Regions from separate parts of the Homo sapiens genome. Here all the other regions are linked to region 1. The links are contacts of gene promoters, found by promoter capture Hi-C in human tissues and cell types (Jung and others, 2019). All regions are on one chromosome and are shown on one strand. The core of a region is centred on a gene start or on the middle of the fragment in contact, and the rest is flanking DNA. Distances in the headings are between cores, read along the strand shown. Region 1 holds the start of ZNF516 (zinc finger protein 516). Region 2 has its middle 46 kb from the start of LINC01879. Region 3 has its middle 130 kb from the start of LINC01893. Region 4 overlaps ZNF516 (zinc finger protein 516).

Evidence for each region. The method cuts DNA at HindIII sites, captures the fragments that hold promoters and counts their contacts. A contact is called where the count stands out against the background at its distance.
Region 2: a fragment that was not itself captured here is called in contact with the fragment with the promoter of ZNF516 in region 1 in 1 of the 25 tissues and cell types used here (lymphoblastoid cells).
Region 3: a fragment that was not itself captured here is called in contact with the fragment with the promoter of ZNF516 in region 1 in 2 of the 25 tissues and cell types used here (hippocampus and mesenchymal stem cells).
Region 4: a fragment that was not itself captured here is called in contact with the fragment with the promoter of ZNF516 in region 1 in 1 of the 25 tissues and cell types used here (lymphoblastoid cells).

Annotation. Positions count from the first base shown.
Region 1 is chr18:76,493,129-76,496,791 of GRCh38, forward strand. ZNF516 (zinc finger protein 516) reads right to left here and starts at 2,114. Exons shown (of 7, transcript NM_014643.4): 1 at 2,016-2,114. ZNF516-DT (ZNF516 divergent transcript) reads left to right here and starts at 2,211. Exons shown (of 2, transcript NR_164145.1): 1 at 2,211-2,658; 2 at 3,151-3,663. It overlaps ZNF516-AS1 (ZNF516 antisense RNA 1), which reads left to right. Exons shown (of 2, transcript NR_136504.1): 2 at 1-790. RefSeq lists an enhancer at 1-45 and silencers at 1,144-1,233, 1,934-2,033, 2,164-2,223. The HindIII fragment of the contact is 9,582 bases long and covers 1-3,663 here.
Region 2 is chr18:76,733,882-76,737,544 of GRCh38, forward strand. No RefSeq gene overlaps it. Among named protein-coding and RNA genes, the nearest start is that of LINC01879, 46 kb to the left of the region's middle. The HindIII fragment of the contact is 4,435 bases long and covers 1-3,663 here.
Region 3 is chr18:76,338,232-76,341,894 of GRCh38, forward strand. No RefSeq gene overlaps it. Among named protein-coding and RNA genes, the nearest start is that of LINC01893, 130 kb to the left of the region's middle. The HindIII fragment of the contact is 3,027 bases long and covers 350-3,376 here.
Region 4 is chr18:76,354,488-76,358,150 of GRCh38, forward strand. It overlaps ZNF516 (zinc finger protein 516), which reads right to left. Exons shown (of 7, transcript NM_014643.4): 7 at 3,195-3,663. Among named protein-coding and RNA genes, the nearest start is that of ZNF516-AS1, 140 kb to the right of the region's middle. The HindIII fragment of the contact is 7,389 bases long and covers 1-3,663 here.

The DNA.
Region 1 (3,663 bases), core at 864-3,363:
TTCATTTAATGGTAAAACAACAGCAGAGCTCTGAAAGTTAGCCATCTGCGCAGAGTTTGCCTTCTTTAAGGAGGGAGGCGTCAGACGATATCCATTTAAATATATTTTGTACTTCCACAAAGGATGGAAAGGGAAATTCACGAAGGGAGTGGAGGCGGAAAGGGAGCTCCGAGAAAGAAGGAGGGGTCATTCCGCGGGGGGCGGGGGGGGGGGCGGGGGCCGACGCAGGGGAAAGAGTTGCTCTCTACACCGAAAAGGGACTTTGACCTTCCATTGATCTCGAAATTCAAAAACGTTTCTTCACAGGTCAGATTGTAACAAACACTCGTTCCTAATTTATGAACTCGCCGTTTTGATTTTATTATTTAAGCATGCGCCAGCAATCGTGTTTCCTTAAGAAAGAACTGACCTATTTTTGGCTGGAGATAAACGATCATGTTAACAGATGTTAATCTTGTAATCTGTTTTTCCTGTAAGCACTTTACCTAGCCGGGTTTCAGACCTTAAAAATAACATCTTTTCCAAAAAGACCTGACGTCACAATTCACTCCCTGAAAAATCACACTCCCCCTCCAGTTTCTTCCCCTGCAATGATTTCAAAGACATTAAATCTTTTCCACTTTATAAATGCTGATCTGTTCTGCCTCTACTCCCACAGGCTCTTATTTGCATTTCAAATTCCACAGGTTACACCAGTCGCCTTTTCAAAAAATGTAAACCAACAATGCAGCAGCAAATGGCTTTTTGTGCATCTGGATTAAATAAAGCACAGAATGAATATATTTAAAAAGAGGGCTGCGCAAGTTGATCTTTGCACACCCGGAGACCCGGTGACTCTTTATCAGCGGAATGAGTAAGACACACACACAGCCCCCAGAGCTCCCGGTCTGCTGCGGGAAGCTTATTAACGCTGATAATAGATGAGGCTGACTTACAGACCCACATTTTTCGGGTAAAAGGCTGGTTCCCTCTGGTCCCTAATTGCGGGGGTCCACTGGCTTTCCTCACCACACACATAAACTGCTGCTTTTAAATACCCCACTCGGCTGCCATTTAACAAACTTATTCATACAAAGTTTCGTTAAAACTTGAGGCGGTTTAATCTAAATACTGATCGTAACTATTCAGTCTGTTAGTTCTCCCTGGAAATGGCAGCGGAGGCGCCTCCCCCCACCTCCCGCCCAACCACACACACCCCACCGCATTCTTCCTTCATACACCCGGGTTCATCTCGCCACCGAGGCCTCCCCCACCCGCACCCGGCGGGGCGCAGCTCCGAGGAGTCCCTGCCCACCCCTCTCCGAGTCGGTGCCAGACCCTCGCCCCCACCCCCACCCCCGCCCGAACTTCCCTTCCAGGACCTCTCACTTCTTTAACGTTAGGGTCACTTAGAAGCTCCCAGCAGACTGGCAAGCAGCCGGGGAGGGGGCCGTAAAAAACAAGGCCACCCCCACCTCCACGCAAACACGTCCCCTAGGCAGCAGCGCGCGGTGCCCACAGGCATCGATCCCATCCGCCAAACCCTTAATAATTGAAGCGGCTCCTCGGGCCCGCAGCCCCATCACCCACCTTCATTAGCCGGAGCGTTTTACTTTAAAGTAAGGCAATTTGCTCTTTGTCTCCTAATGGATGGAGAGCGCATCCGAGCTCCCCTCCTCCCGCGTCGCCTTTGACAAAGTGTACAAAGCCAGAGCCTCTTCCGCGCTCCCACCCCGGCCCCCACCCCGCCCCTCCACTGCGGTAAAAACCACCTCCCGGGCGCTCGCCCCGCCGCCCGAAGTTGCATCTTCCCCTATCCTGGAATTGACGAGCAGAGCAACTACCCACCGGGAAAGCCAAGTAGCCCTCCCCGCGCCCGGGGGGCCCCTCCCCGGCGCACCCCCCTCCCCAGCGCCTCCCCCCCTACCCCCAGCGGCGCACACCAGAGTACGGGGCACGTCGGGGCTCCGGGCCCCGCGCCCACCGCCCGCCCGCGGCCCCTGCGGCGCAGCCCTCCCCCCGCCCGCGGCCCCTACCTTGGCAGGGAGGCGGCGGGCCTGGGGAGGAGGACGCGCACGCCCCGCGCATCTGAAGGTGAAGCCGAGCGCCCGCGGCGCGGAGCCGAGCGCTGCACTAGACCGACCGCGCCAGCTGCGCCCGGGCGCGGGGGACGCGCGAGGGCGCGCGGGGCCCGCCACGCGCCCGGCCCCCTCCTCGCGCCGCCCGCGCGCGCCCCGGACGCGTCCGCCCCGCGGGGGCCCCGGCGCGAGCCGGGCTCGGGGGGCTGCGCGGCACGGGGAGGGGGCCGGGCGCTCACGGCCCGGCGCAGGCCGGAGGCTTCCCCCAGCCTGGAAATGGTCTGCCCTGTAGGAAACGCACACTCCACTATTGTCTCATCAGCACAAAGTTCTGCCACACTGAGGGGACAGTCTGGAGGCTTGCAGTGACTCAGACACAGCCAATTCCTCCCCTAATAGCACTGAATCACGGTTCCAGCGGCCAGTGGTCGCCCCTCGTCAAGGTCTAAGGCTGCTGCAGCCCCGGCTCCCGGAGGCCGTTTCCGCGCGCACACGCGCATCCATACGTACAGACGTGCTCGGGATGCGGGTCCCGCCGGCGGGTACCTGGGCACTGCGCCCCATCTGGACTGAAATGGGGACACCCCTTCGGGGGTCCCAGGTGCGTGTGCATTACACACGGCGTAGCGTGTGCGTGTCACTCAACTTCCTGGTAAATGCCTCTGGGGGTGTTCAGATGCAGGATCAATACATTAAGTCCTGAATCAAGGGTCACAGAGGTCCCGCTGGAAAGACTTCAAACAGCGGCTCTGCCACCCGGCCATTTAAAAATGAAGGGGTTGTTTACCGGTAGCCTCGAAAGTTCAACTCTTATTTTTCTGTTCTTAAAACTTCATTTCTTCACCTCACCTACTCCCCACGAGCAGTAGTTAGTTGTAATAAGTTGAGTCTGGGACTAGAAATCCTAATTTGACTCCAAAACGCTCTCCTGTTACAGGGCAGGGATGGCCGGGGTGGGGGAGGGGAGGGCGGGCGCGCGGGGGCGGGGGAGGGGCGGGTCGGAGCTAGCGAGGGCGAGCGCCCCTTCACGGCCGGTGACGTAGACCCGGGGAGCTGCGGCCTGCGGAGGGGTAACACTATCTTCTCCCACCAGGCTCCTGGCCGTATTGTTCTCCTTCTCCTCGTGATAACTCCGCAGTGGAGGTGGATTCCGTCCAAGACGCCCAACGTGGCTCCGCGTAGCAATCAGCGCTGCAATCCTGGCGGTTACCTCAGCGGCGGCGTCTCTCTCTGCGCCTCACACTCGCAGCCCGCGGCCCTCCCCAACTTAGGGCGTTTACAAAAGAAACTACTCCAGACGCGCTGCAAAGGGAGGCGCATGTGCCCGAAAGCTGGCGATCAGACGGGGGGGGCATTCTGCATGTGTGATGTTTCTGGGGGCGGTGGGGAGTGTGTGTCGGGGTCGGGGGGCGGGGGGGAGTCAGGCAGAAAGACAGGGACAACCTCCGCTATGAAGGATCCGCGAGTCCTCAAATGTAAGCTCCGTGTGACTAACGACCTGCACTGATTTGGAGAGCGGGCATGTTAAAGGTCACGGACAATTGTTGCTGGCTTCAGCATGAATGCCTAAGTGGGATGTATTCTTCAGCAATCACGTTTAAGTCTG
Region 2 (3,663 bases), core at 839-3,338, 240 kb after region 1:
CAGGAACCAATTTATAATTCTACTCAGCAATAACACACCAAGCATGTAAACTATTGTTATAAATATAATAAATTAAACTTATAATATGTCAAGGTGTTTAAACATTCCAATACCTCTTAGAAATGATAAAATTTTAAGTAACAATCTGCTTAAAAATCAAAAGATTGGAGCATCATATTCTCTCAAACATTGAAATATTTTAACAGCATGCAGATGAATCTGAACTTATCACAGTAGTATTGACATTGGAGATCTGAATTATATTAATAATCCAGGTGAAAGACAATGATGGCCTGAATTCATGTTATATAGAACACCTGGTTAGATTTTTTTTTTCTTTTGAAACAGGGTCTCGCTTTGTCGCCCAGGCTGGAGGGCAGTGGCGTGATCTCAGCTCACTGCAACCTCCGCCTCCCTGGTTCAAGTGATTCTCTCGCCTTGGCCTCCTGAGTAGCTGGGATTACAGGTTTCCACCACCATGCCTGGCTAATTTTTATATTTTTAGTAGAGACGGGGTTTCACCATATTGGCGGGGCTGGTCTCAAACTTCTGACCTCAGGACTCTCACCTGACCTCAGGTGACTCTCAGTCCAAGGCCTGAGAACCAGGGAAGCTGATTAGGTGACTCTGTCCAAGGGTGAAAGCCTCAGAACCTGGGTGTTGTGGGGAAGCCACTGGTGTGTAAGTCCTGGAGCCCAAAGGCCGGAGCCTGGAGTTCTGATGTCGAGGAGAGGAGAAGAAGGGTGTATCTCGGCTCCAGCAGATAGACCAGCACATTCCCCTTTTCTCTGCTTTCCTTCTCTGCGGGTCTGCAGCTGACTGGGTGGTTGCTGCCCACATCATTGAGGGTGGACATTCCCCCGCAGGTCCACTCAGATCACGTGTAAATCTCTGGAGACACCATCACAGACACATCCAAAAATAATGCTTGGCCAGTTTTCTAGGTCTTCCTTAATCCAGTTAAGGGGTCAGCTGGCTGGTGTGCCAGAAGGTTGTTGGAACCCTCAACATGCATGGGTGTTCCCAGACTTGCAGGCAATCGGCCACCAATCTGTACACAAAAGCCCCATGAGACAGAGGACTGAATGGTCCCCATTTCTAGAAGGGCTCACTGGACCGAGATGAGAGGAAAATTCCTAGTTTAATGTTGAAAAATGTAAAATCTGAATATCCAAACTGAAGTTCTGTTTCTCATTTTTCTCAGGTTTGGAATCTTGAAGTTCAAAGCTGAGACTATCCCACAGCCGATGCATTTGTCCAGAAGTTCATGGAATCCAGAAGCTCTCAAGTCCGTCAGCAGTTTTCAGGGTGTTCTTGGGAGAAAGTCTTAAGAACTCCCTCCAAAAAAAAAAAAAGGCCGGGCATGGTGGCTCATGCCTGTAACCCCAGCACTTTGGGAGGCCAAGGTGGGTGGATCACGAGGTCAGGAGATCGAGACCATCCTGGCTAACACAGTGAAACCCCGTCTCTACTAAAAATGCAAAAAATTTAGCTGGGTGTGGTGGTGGGCGTCTGTAGTCCCAGCTACTCCGGAGGCTGAGGAAGGAGAATGCCGTGAACCCGGGAGGCAGAGCTTGCAATAAGCCGAGACTGCACCACTGCACCCCAGCCTGGGCGACAGAGCAAGACTCCATCTCAAAAAATCAAAAAACAAAACAAAACAAAACAAAACAAAAAAAACGGGTAAGGCAATTTCTTTTTTTCCTTTGAGACGAAGACTCGCTCTATCACCCCACCTGGAGTGCAGTGGCACAATCTCAGCTCACTGTAACCTCCACCTCCCGAGTTCAAGCGATTCTCCTGCCTGAGCCTCCTGAGTAGCTGGGACTACAGGCACGCCCAGCACGACTGGCTGATTTTTGTATTTTTAGTAGAGACGAATTTCACCATGTTGGTCAGGCTGGTCTCGAACTTCTGCCCTCAAGCAATGCACCTGCCTTGGCCTCCCAAAGTGCTGGGATTACAGATATGAGCCACCATGCCCACCTGGGTCAAGCAATTTTTAAAAGGAGGCAAGTGCTGAAAATACAAGCCAAAGATGCCATAGTGAGGATGGGAGAGAAAGAACCACCCTGGAATTCTTTTAAAGGAAGAGAAAGCACAATGTGGTGACATTTGAAAAAGAAAGTCAAAGGCAGACATAAAATAAGCAGATATCAGAAACAAATTAACGGAATGACTTCAAGAGTGACAACTTTAAAGCAGTTCTATTTTGAGAGGCAGCAAGAACGTGGCAAAGGAATCCACTGTCTCTTTTGCAGCTCGCCCTGCAAGGGTGACCAGCTGCACCCAGGACGGGATGTGCCACAGCTGACAGGCGACACTCTCCTTCCCATATGCAGCAACAAAAGCTTTGCTTCTTACCAGTTTTGCAGAATTGTTTTGAGGCAGCAGCAAACAGCAGCACAGGACAGAAAAGCCTTTTATCCGCCTTCATCCCGGAGATGAAATGAAGCATGGTCTGTGGAGGAATACGCTGCGTGGCCCTGTTACAACAAAAGCACAATTAACACTGAGATCTCGCACACGTGTATCTAGGACACGCCAAGGAGGGAGTGCAGGGTCGTCAGCCAGGACTGACGGCGGTGTCCTCTGCGCATGGGGTGCAGCCCACCCTCTATGAGGAAGAGGCCACCTCTCCGCGCAGTGTTGGGGAGTCGGCATGGAGGCGGTGTGGAAGCCCTGGGGGTCCTCATGTCCCCTGAACCTCTTGAGGCTCAGTTTCCTCACTGCAGATGGGAACCATGTTACCTCTCACCGGCGATTGGAGTGTCCAAGAAGAATGACTTGGTGATTCATGACCTAAGAAGGACACGTGCACAGGGCTGTGGGTGTACCTCTGAGAACCGCTATAGCTAAAGCTGTGTCGACTATCAATTTACTTATAGAAACCCCAGTGCCTGTGAGATCAGGGTTTTGTTAAAATCTGCACTCATTCCAGAGGTCCTGGCTGCATTTCATGGCAGACCTTGCTGAACATTTCCAGGAGGCAAATGCAGTTCTGGGGTCGATTTGGTGGGCGTGTTCCAAAACATAACATTTACTTATACTCAGACTTGAAAACCATCTTTGTGCAACCACCACCCGCTCTCCACCAAGAACTGACTTTTCACCGAGGCCTCCAGAGTATAATCAACCTTTCGGGTTTCTCATTCCATGGTGAAGTCGTGAGTTCTCCCACACAGATGTGAAAGGAAATACTTTCAAAATGTTAAGATATCCGCTGGAATAAGTGGATCATTCCCCACAAAGTAGAGGATGGGTTTCATTGACTCATGAATAGAATGGATCCCCCAAAGTGGAGGATGGGTTTCACTGGTCACTGATAGAATGGATTCCCCAAAGTGGAGGATGGGTTGCATTGATTCATTGATAGAATGGATCCCCCAAAGTAGAAGATGGGTTTCACTGGTCACTGATAGAATGGATCCCCCAAAGTGAAGGATGGGTTTCACTGATTCACTGATAGAATGGATCCCCCTAAGTGGAGGATGGGTGTCATTAATTCATTAATAGAATGGATCCCCCAAAGTGGAGGATGGGTGTCACTGACGCATTGATAGAATGGATCATTGCATTTCCACTGGGAGTCAGACACTGTTCCTGTGGGTGCTGTTCCCAAGGGTCAAGGGTGCTGGGCCTGGGCCTTTGACTAACTTGTTT
Region 3 (3,663 bases), core at 613-3,112, 160 kb before region 1:
ACTAATCACGTATCTCCCATCTCTAGAACACGTTGCTTGACAGATGAGAGAACCACAAGTCACCTATGTATGTGAGTCGGACCTGAAGCTACACTGAGGTTCGGTTTGTGAGACACACACATTCACGCATCCAAACCCAAAGAATGGACTCGGAGACAGGAAGAACAGCTGAAGCGAGACTTTTAATGGTGGTCTTGCAAGATCGGGTGTCTGGTAGGTGGGCACACCCACGGCAGTAACAGCAGGTAATTTATCTACTAGCAGGCAAATCCCTCCCCCAGTTCCCCACTGGTCAAGTACTGGGGGGTTACAATCTTCCTGGAAGTCGCCTAAGTTCTATTATCCGCTTATAAGATTATACCCCAAAGTTTCAATTTCCCAAAAACAAAACTTTCTTCCCTTTTATGGGCTGACCCCTCCTCTACATTCTGTTCACTTATCATAACCTAGGTGCATGAGCCATGCGGTTTGTTACATTTGCAGGCTGGCTACCAGTACTTAGATTTATCATGCCTTGAAAATGGACCATTTAAAATGTTTTCTTACAAGTATGTCTGGTCATGCATGAAGAATGGGTGGGGAAAGAGTTTCTAGCCAGTGAAACAATGTACCTAATATCATCATGCCCACTGGGCCCCAATGACTCATATCAGGGAAAAGGGGGGCCCTGGGAAGAAGCTGAACAATCTATTCTCACAGCAAACTGTGGGGGACACTGTGGGGACACTGGGACTCTTGTTGGGATGTGCCAATGACAGAGTTGGGGGACATACTCCCTCATTATGGATCACAGCTGGTATGCAGCAAGGGATGCCTCTGGAGCAGCTGAGTCTTGGTGCCTCGGGCACAGAGTCAACACTGTGAGAGTGGACCCCCTGCCCGCCATGTGTGCCCCATGGCCCTTGGCAGGCAAAAGCAGAAAAGAACAAGACTCTGTGACCTGGAGGGGCCCTGGAGATATGAGAGGCTCAGGGACAGTCAAAGCCAAGACGAATGCTCCCACGGAATGCTGTAACTTGTGTTATCTTTTTAATCTCATGGGATGAATACTACAATAATATTGGCAAACATTTATTGGGTACATGCTGTGTGCTGGGAGCTGGATTATACATATATTGTTTTATTTAATGGTAACAACAGCCCTGGGTGGTAAGCACAGTTATTCCCTCATCCTCTAGATGGGGAAGCAGAAGCTTCAGGAAGTTTGGCAACTCCCCAGGGTCATGCAGGAAGTGAGCAGCCAAGCCGATATCAAGCCCAGACAGGCTGATTCCAGGGTCCATGCTCTTGGCTCTGATCATCAAGCAAGCTGTGCCCAGGACTGGCTTCTGGGGCATATAACCAGGGACCTGTGCTTGGGTTCTAATGCTCTGTGAGTGCCATCTCGAAATTCATAATGATTTTATCTTTTAATTTGTGTTTTGTAACTGAAATCCACTGGAATAGTGGAGCATGTGTCAGGGGCTTGGAGCTTTGATGGGGCTTACACACAGTACTAGCGTAAAGGTAGCAATGGCCTTGGAGTCATCCATTCATGTGGGATGGGATCACAACTACATGGGAGAGGAAATGCCAGGCTGAACCTCTTGCCCCACCAAGGCTCCACACACTAGCCCAGGATGGACAGCACTTGTGCCAGGTCATGGGGTGGCCCCCAGTGCCCATGAAGGTCTGTGCCAGCCCCACAGACGTGCCTGGACCTGAAGGAACATGATGCTATATAGTAACTAAAAATCACCATGATAGCAGAGAGAGAGAGACCCAAAAGAGAGGCAAAATCTTTCTATGGCACCTGTACCTCTAATGACATCTTTCATCTTGCTTCTTTAACAAAGAGCCTCCCTCCATTTTCATTTTACACTGGGCCTTACAAATTATGCAGCTGGCCCTGTGTGTACAAATTTCTGTGGAAACACAAAAGACCTGGCAATTAAATCTGCATGAAAAATTTGGGAAGGGGTTCATAGGGAATTTGAACTGGATAGTGATACATTTGTTTGTGTAGGTATTCATAAATATCTTTTGAATTAACAAATAACTCATGTGCAGGCCCTTGCACAATAGGATTGGAAGATAGGCAACTGAAGCAGAGGACACAAAAGAGGCAAAGATATAAAGATTCATGCATATATTTATTTTATTACCATACATCCATTGAGTGTTTTCCTGATGCCAGGCACTGAGCTGGTCACTAAACCCCTCCAGGGAGTGGGAAAAACTCTCCAGGGGAAGCCCATGATTGATTGTGACTGGAAGCTATGATACTGGGGATGAGAGAAATGACAGTATGAAGAGAGTTGAGTTTACAACGATCAGTTTGGGGTCATGTGAAGGGTGACTGCTTCAGGAAAACAGAAGTCAATCTAGGTATTCTCGGTTTAATGCAGGAAATCATTGGAGGCTTCCATAGCCTCCTGGAAGGCTGGAGGGTGAAGGGTGGAATCCAACTGCTCAAGCAGATAATTTACAGGATACTCAATGCCACCAAAGCTTTCAGACATCTCAGCAGGAGCTGTCTCCCAAGCACAGCTGCAGGCAGCACTGAGTAGATGATGCTCAAGAATGCACCTTCCACCTTTGTTTCTGCCATCGAATCTACTGGAGAGTAACAGTTCTCCTTATCTTCCACCTTCCAAACCTCCCTACAGTGCCTCTTGGCAGTCTTTAACCTGGAACCCTGCAGCAGAAGGAATGCTGGTCAGTGTAGCTGCAGGCTTCTCTTCTGCAGGGCACAGGAGACTCTGGAAGAGATTGAGGCACAGTTGACAACAGATAATTCGGCACAGCCAATGCCAACCACAAAACTATCTGAGTTTTAATACTGTCCAAAGAGTTAAATGGTAGTTCAGGATTTCATTTATAAAGCTGATTATAAGCTTTGTAGTGGGTAGATGGAGGTAAGAGAAGATGGATGCAGAAAATTCATTTGGGAGGGTCTTAATTTTCTGAAGGCAATACAGAGCAGGATTAAGTTAACACAGTGGTGGAAGACTTCCTTGAGAGACATTTTAGAAGAAGAATCAACAATAATTGATAACTAGTTGGCTTTTGGAGGGATATAAGAAGTGTGAATTTACATCCTGTTGGTGTCCATGATATCAAAAATGCCATCTAAGAAAAGTCATAGAAATATGGTGTTTTCTTGTTGAATTAAGTGTCACTAGGATCTTTTTCATACCTTTCAGTATTTGTCATCTAAAAATCAGGCTCCCGTGTCCTCATGGCAGTCATTGAGAGGGATGCTAAAGAACATGTGCCCTCTGCAGCCTCATACAAATTAGTCCACTCACCTCCACTGCATTTCACCTCAAACCTGACTTTTCATTGTCATCCAGGTGTCTGCTCCTCCTTTGGTGTTTCTCTTACTCAGGAGATGCCCCTCCCATTATGCCTCCTAGAAATCTGGAAGCTAGCCTTTGCCTTCAGCCCAGTTCCCATCCTGTCTAAGCCATGACAAAATCTAGCCACTTCTGCCTCTTAAATATATATTGATATTGACCACTTTTTGCCTTCTTTCCACCACCCTTTCAGACCAATTCACCATCTTCTTGCCCCCCAAACTATAAGAGACTTCCCCTTCCAATCCACTCTCCACCCAAAAGCCATGATAGGCTTTGAGAAACAGAGTTTAGATAATGTCATAATCTGCTTTGAAAAACCTTC
Region 4 (3,663 bases), core at 617-3,116, 140 kb before region 1:
GCTGATCCCCAGGCTGCCAATTTTGCCGTCTGAAGCCTCACTTTGAATTAGTCATCAAGGAATAGTTGGCAATGATCTCAGTCTCTTTCCTCTGTCAGATTTGACAAAGTATGTTCTAATTGTACTATGGGTTATTTCCAAAAATACACTCCCTTAGCTTTTCCTCACTGAAATTCACATGTCACTTGTCTCTCCCATCTTAAGATCTTACAGATTTTCCAAGTCAACTAAGGTTTACTATCAGAGGCAAGTTTTGTTTTAATGCCACCTAATTACCCCATTATATCACATCCTTCCAAAAGTTTCAGGTGTGTGTCACCTAGTCCTGGTGACACCTGGGTATCTGATTAGATCCTTGACCTCACTCCCCAATGGAAGAGGCTCCATTCCTCTTCCACAGACATTGTGAGCTTGTATGTATTCCCTCTGAATTAGAACTCATTTTTTTTTTTTTTTTTGAGACAGTCTCACTCTGTCATCAGGCTGGAGTGCAGTGGTGCGATCTCGGCTCACTGCAACCTCTGGCTCCCTGGTTCAAGCGATTATCCTGCCTCAGCCTGCCGAGTAGCTGGGACTACAGGTACGTGCCACCATGCCCAGCTAATTTTTCTAATTGTAGTAGAGACGAGGTTTCACCATGTTGGCCAGGATGATCTCGATCTCCTGACCTCGTGATCCGCCCACTTCAGCCTACCAAAGTGCTGGGATTACAGGTGTGAGCTGGGATTACAGGTGCCTGGCCTAGAACTCATCATTTTTAGACCCATGTTCCTCCTCCACTGTGACAGCCCAAACAGCAGGTTCCATTTTGTTCATATTTCTATGCCTGCACCTATTTCAGTGCTTACCACATGGCACAGAATTTGTTAAGCAAATTCATAAGGTTGAAAACTTTCTGTACCATTTCTACAATTTTAAAGAAGCCTAAGATCTTTTGATTAAGTGAAACTTGCATGTTTATCTGGTTCCAATTTACTTCTCTGAGTAAGGACTCTAATATTGTATTCCTTAAAAATGAATGTCGAGCTTCTGCTAAGACACAGGGTCAGGGCGAGTCATCTACTCCTGCACAGCCTAACCTACAGGTGACGTTTTATTTTGAGGCACCATCAGCCTGTTCCTTCCACCACACATCAACAGTTCTACTATGCAAAATACCCATGCCAGACCTCCAAATATTTCACAGCGGTTCATCTAATTTTGCGAAGTCTGTCTTAAACCCTCCCTTTAGACTCGGTAACCCTGTCCTGGGAACATTCCGGTCCACCAATGCCACTCTTATAGAATGGAAGAGCAGGACATAAGGAGATTGATGTACGAAGTCAAGTGGGTCTCATGCTTGTGACCTGAATACTGGTCTTCCATGGACAAATCTGGGCACATAAAAAGGCAAGATGGAGTCCCCTTGTCCTCTTGCCCTTTATAACTTGAAACTGTTGGCAATGAAGAATTTACTCTTGGCAGATGAAATAACCCACCCAAGGGCTTGGAATGGGAATCTCCACATCTCCCTCAGTTGAAAAATGAAAACAGGAGACAGCATTTGCTACGGTTTGAATGTCTGTGTTCCCACCGAATTTCATACGTTGAAACCTGACACCCAATGTGTTGGCATCAACAGGTGGGGTCTTCGGGAGGTGATCAGGGTCATGAGGGCAGAGCTCTCAGGAGCAGGAGCAGGGCCCTCATCAAAGAGGCCCGAGAGGGCTTGTTCACCTCTTACTCCACGAGGACACAGCAAGAAGGCTCCATCTATAAAGTGCAAAGCTCTCCCCAGACACGGAACCTGCTGCCACACTGATCATGAATGTCCCAGCCTCCAGAACTTGAGCAAAAAATACCTTTAAAAATTGCCCAATCTTAGGTATTTTGTGATAGCAGCCTGAAAGGACTAAGACAGCATTCTCATTGTGATTGTTTCACTACATTTTCCCTACCCATAAAGAAATCAGACAGAGGGATGTGGGACTGTCACCTGCTCCAGATTCCTAAGGAAGTTCCCCTTCCTTAAAGCCATCCTAAGCCCCTGTGCCTCAGCAGACAGTGAGGAAATCGGACATCCCAAGAACGTGTCACGCTGGTAAAGACCAGGGCATCTCGCATTTTCTTTCTGTAATTTACAGTAACATCTTTTAAAAACGTAAGATTGAGAACATTAATAACACACATTAGAAATGCACCACTGTTTTCAAACAGCTAAGGAAGGGAAAATAAAAGTGCTGCGATGAATGCAGCCATTCGTGGTAAGGTTTTACATTGTTGGGGGTGGGGGGCGTCATGATACCCAGCTTCCGCACCTAGCACGACATGGGCAAACTGCAGACACGGAGACCCCGCGCCACTGCCTTTCACCCATTTCCCACCCAGCAAGATGCCCAGAGCAGCCAGGGTAGATGTCGCGCCCTCACTGCTGGGTGATCAGGAGGTGGATAAAGGAGGATGTAATACTGCTTTCTGGGGGAAGGAGCTTGGTTACTTGTGGAACCAAAGGGTCTGGGATGTGGCTACAGGAACACCAATAAGCTCCTGTGTTACCAGGGGAACTGACCATTGTCAGGTGACACAGAGAGATGTAGGCCAGGGTTTTGTTTTGTCCTAACACAAGTGTTCTTAGCCCTTCACTTCAATGTCAGCTACCTATTAAGGACTTTGGTGTTGCCACTTCGTTTCGGATGCACGCCCGTCTCAGAAGAACCAGCCATCCAAGAGGAGGGAGGTTCTAAACAGCGAGGCATAAACCTCAGCAGAGTTAGACAAGGTCTGCACTTCATCTAAGGGCCTTTCAGAGTATCAAAGGCCTTCGGGCTTCCACAACAGCATTTTCACCGCAGAGTGGCGCACCCAGCGCAGAGTGGCGTCCCCAGCGCAGAGTGGCGTCCCCAGCGCAGAGTGGCGCACCCAGCGCAGAGTGGCGTACCCAGCGGAGAGTGGCGTACCCAGCGGAGAGTGGCGTACCCAGCGGAGAGTGGCGTACCCAGCGGAGAGTGGTGTACCCAGCGGAGAGTGGCGTACCCAGCGCAGAGTGGCGTACCCAAGGCTAGACGCTCCGGTTGGGGGAAGGACGCCCAGTGCTGTTCAGAGTTCCATTTCCTGCCCAGCACATCTGGAAAGCCACATTCGGGAACTTATCTAGTCTGTTCTTTCCTCAGCCAGTAGAGACACAGTTCTATCTTTTAATTTTAAAACACATTTTATCTTTTTAAATTAGAATCTTTATTGCATCTGATGGTCCTGTCTCATTTTTGCTGTCTCATCAGTAAACCATTGCAAACCACAGTGCCAGCCCTTGTGTCCCCACATTTTTGACACAATAATTTCCTCCAGGTGTGGCTGAGTCAGAATTCCGTCCGCGTCCATCCCTGTGCGTCCTGTATGGGTGACAGTGCAAGGGTAAGAACAGTGGGTGTATTCAGTGGGGAAATAACATGTGTGCTGTGAAAGAAAATGAGAAAAACACAGCGTCTCCATTAAAAAACTGTATGTCCTCGAGTCCACAAAAGAGTTGGAAAAAAACCACTCGGGCCATCTGGGCATCTGTTCAGATGAACGATCTTGTGAATTACCCTAAAACTCTTCCATAAATAAAGAGCATTAACACTTTGGTTTATGTTCAGCCAACAAAAATAAATAACCACAGACCAAAGCGGGCTGTCAAACGATTTA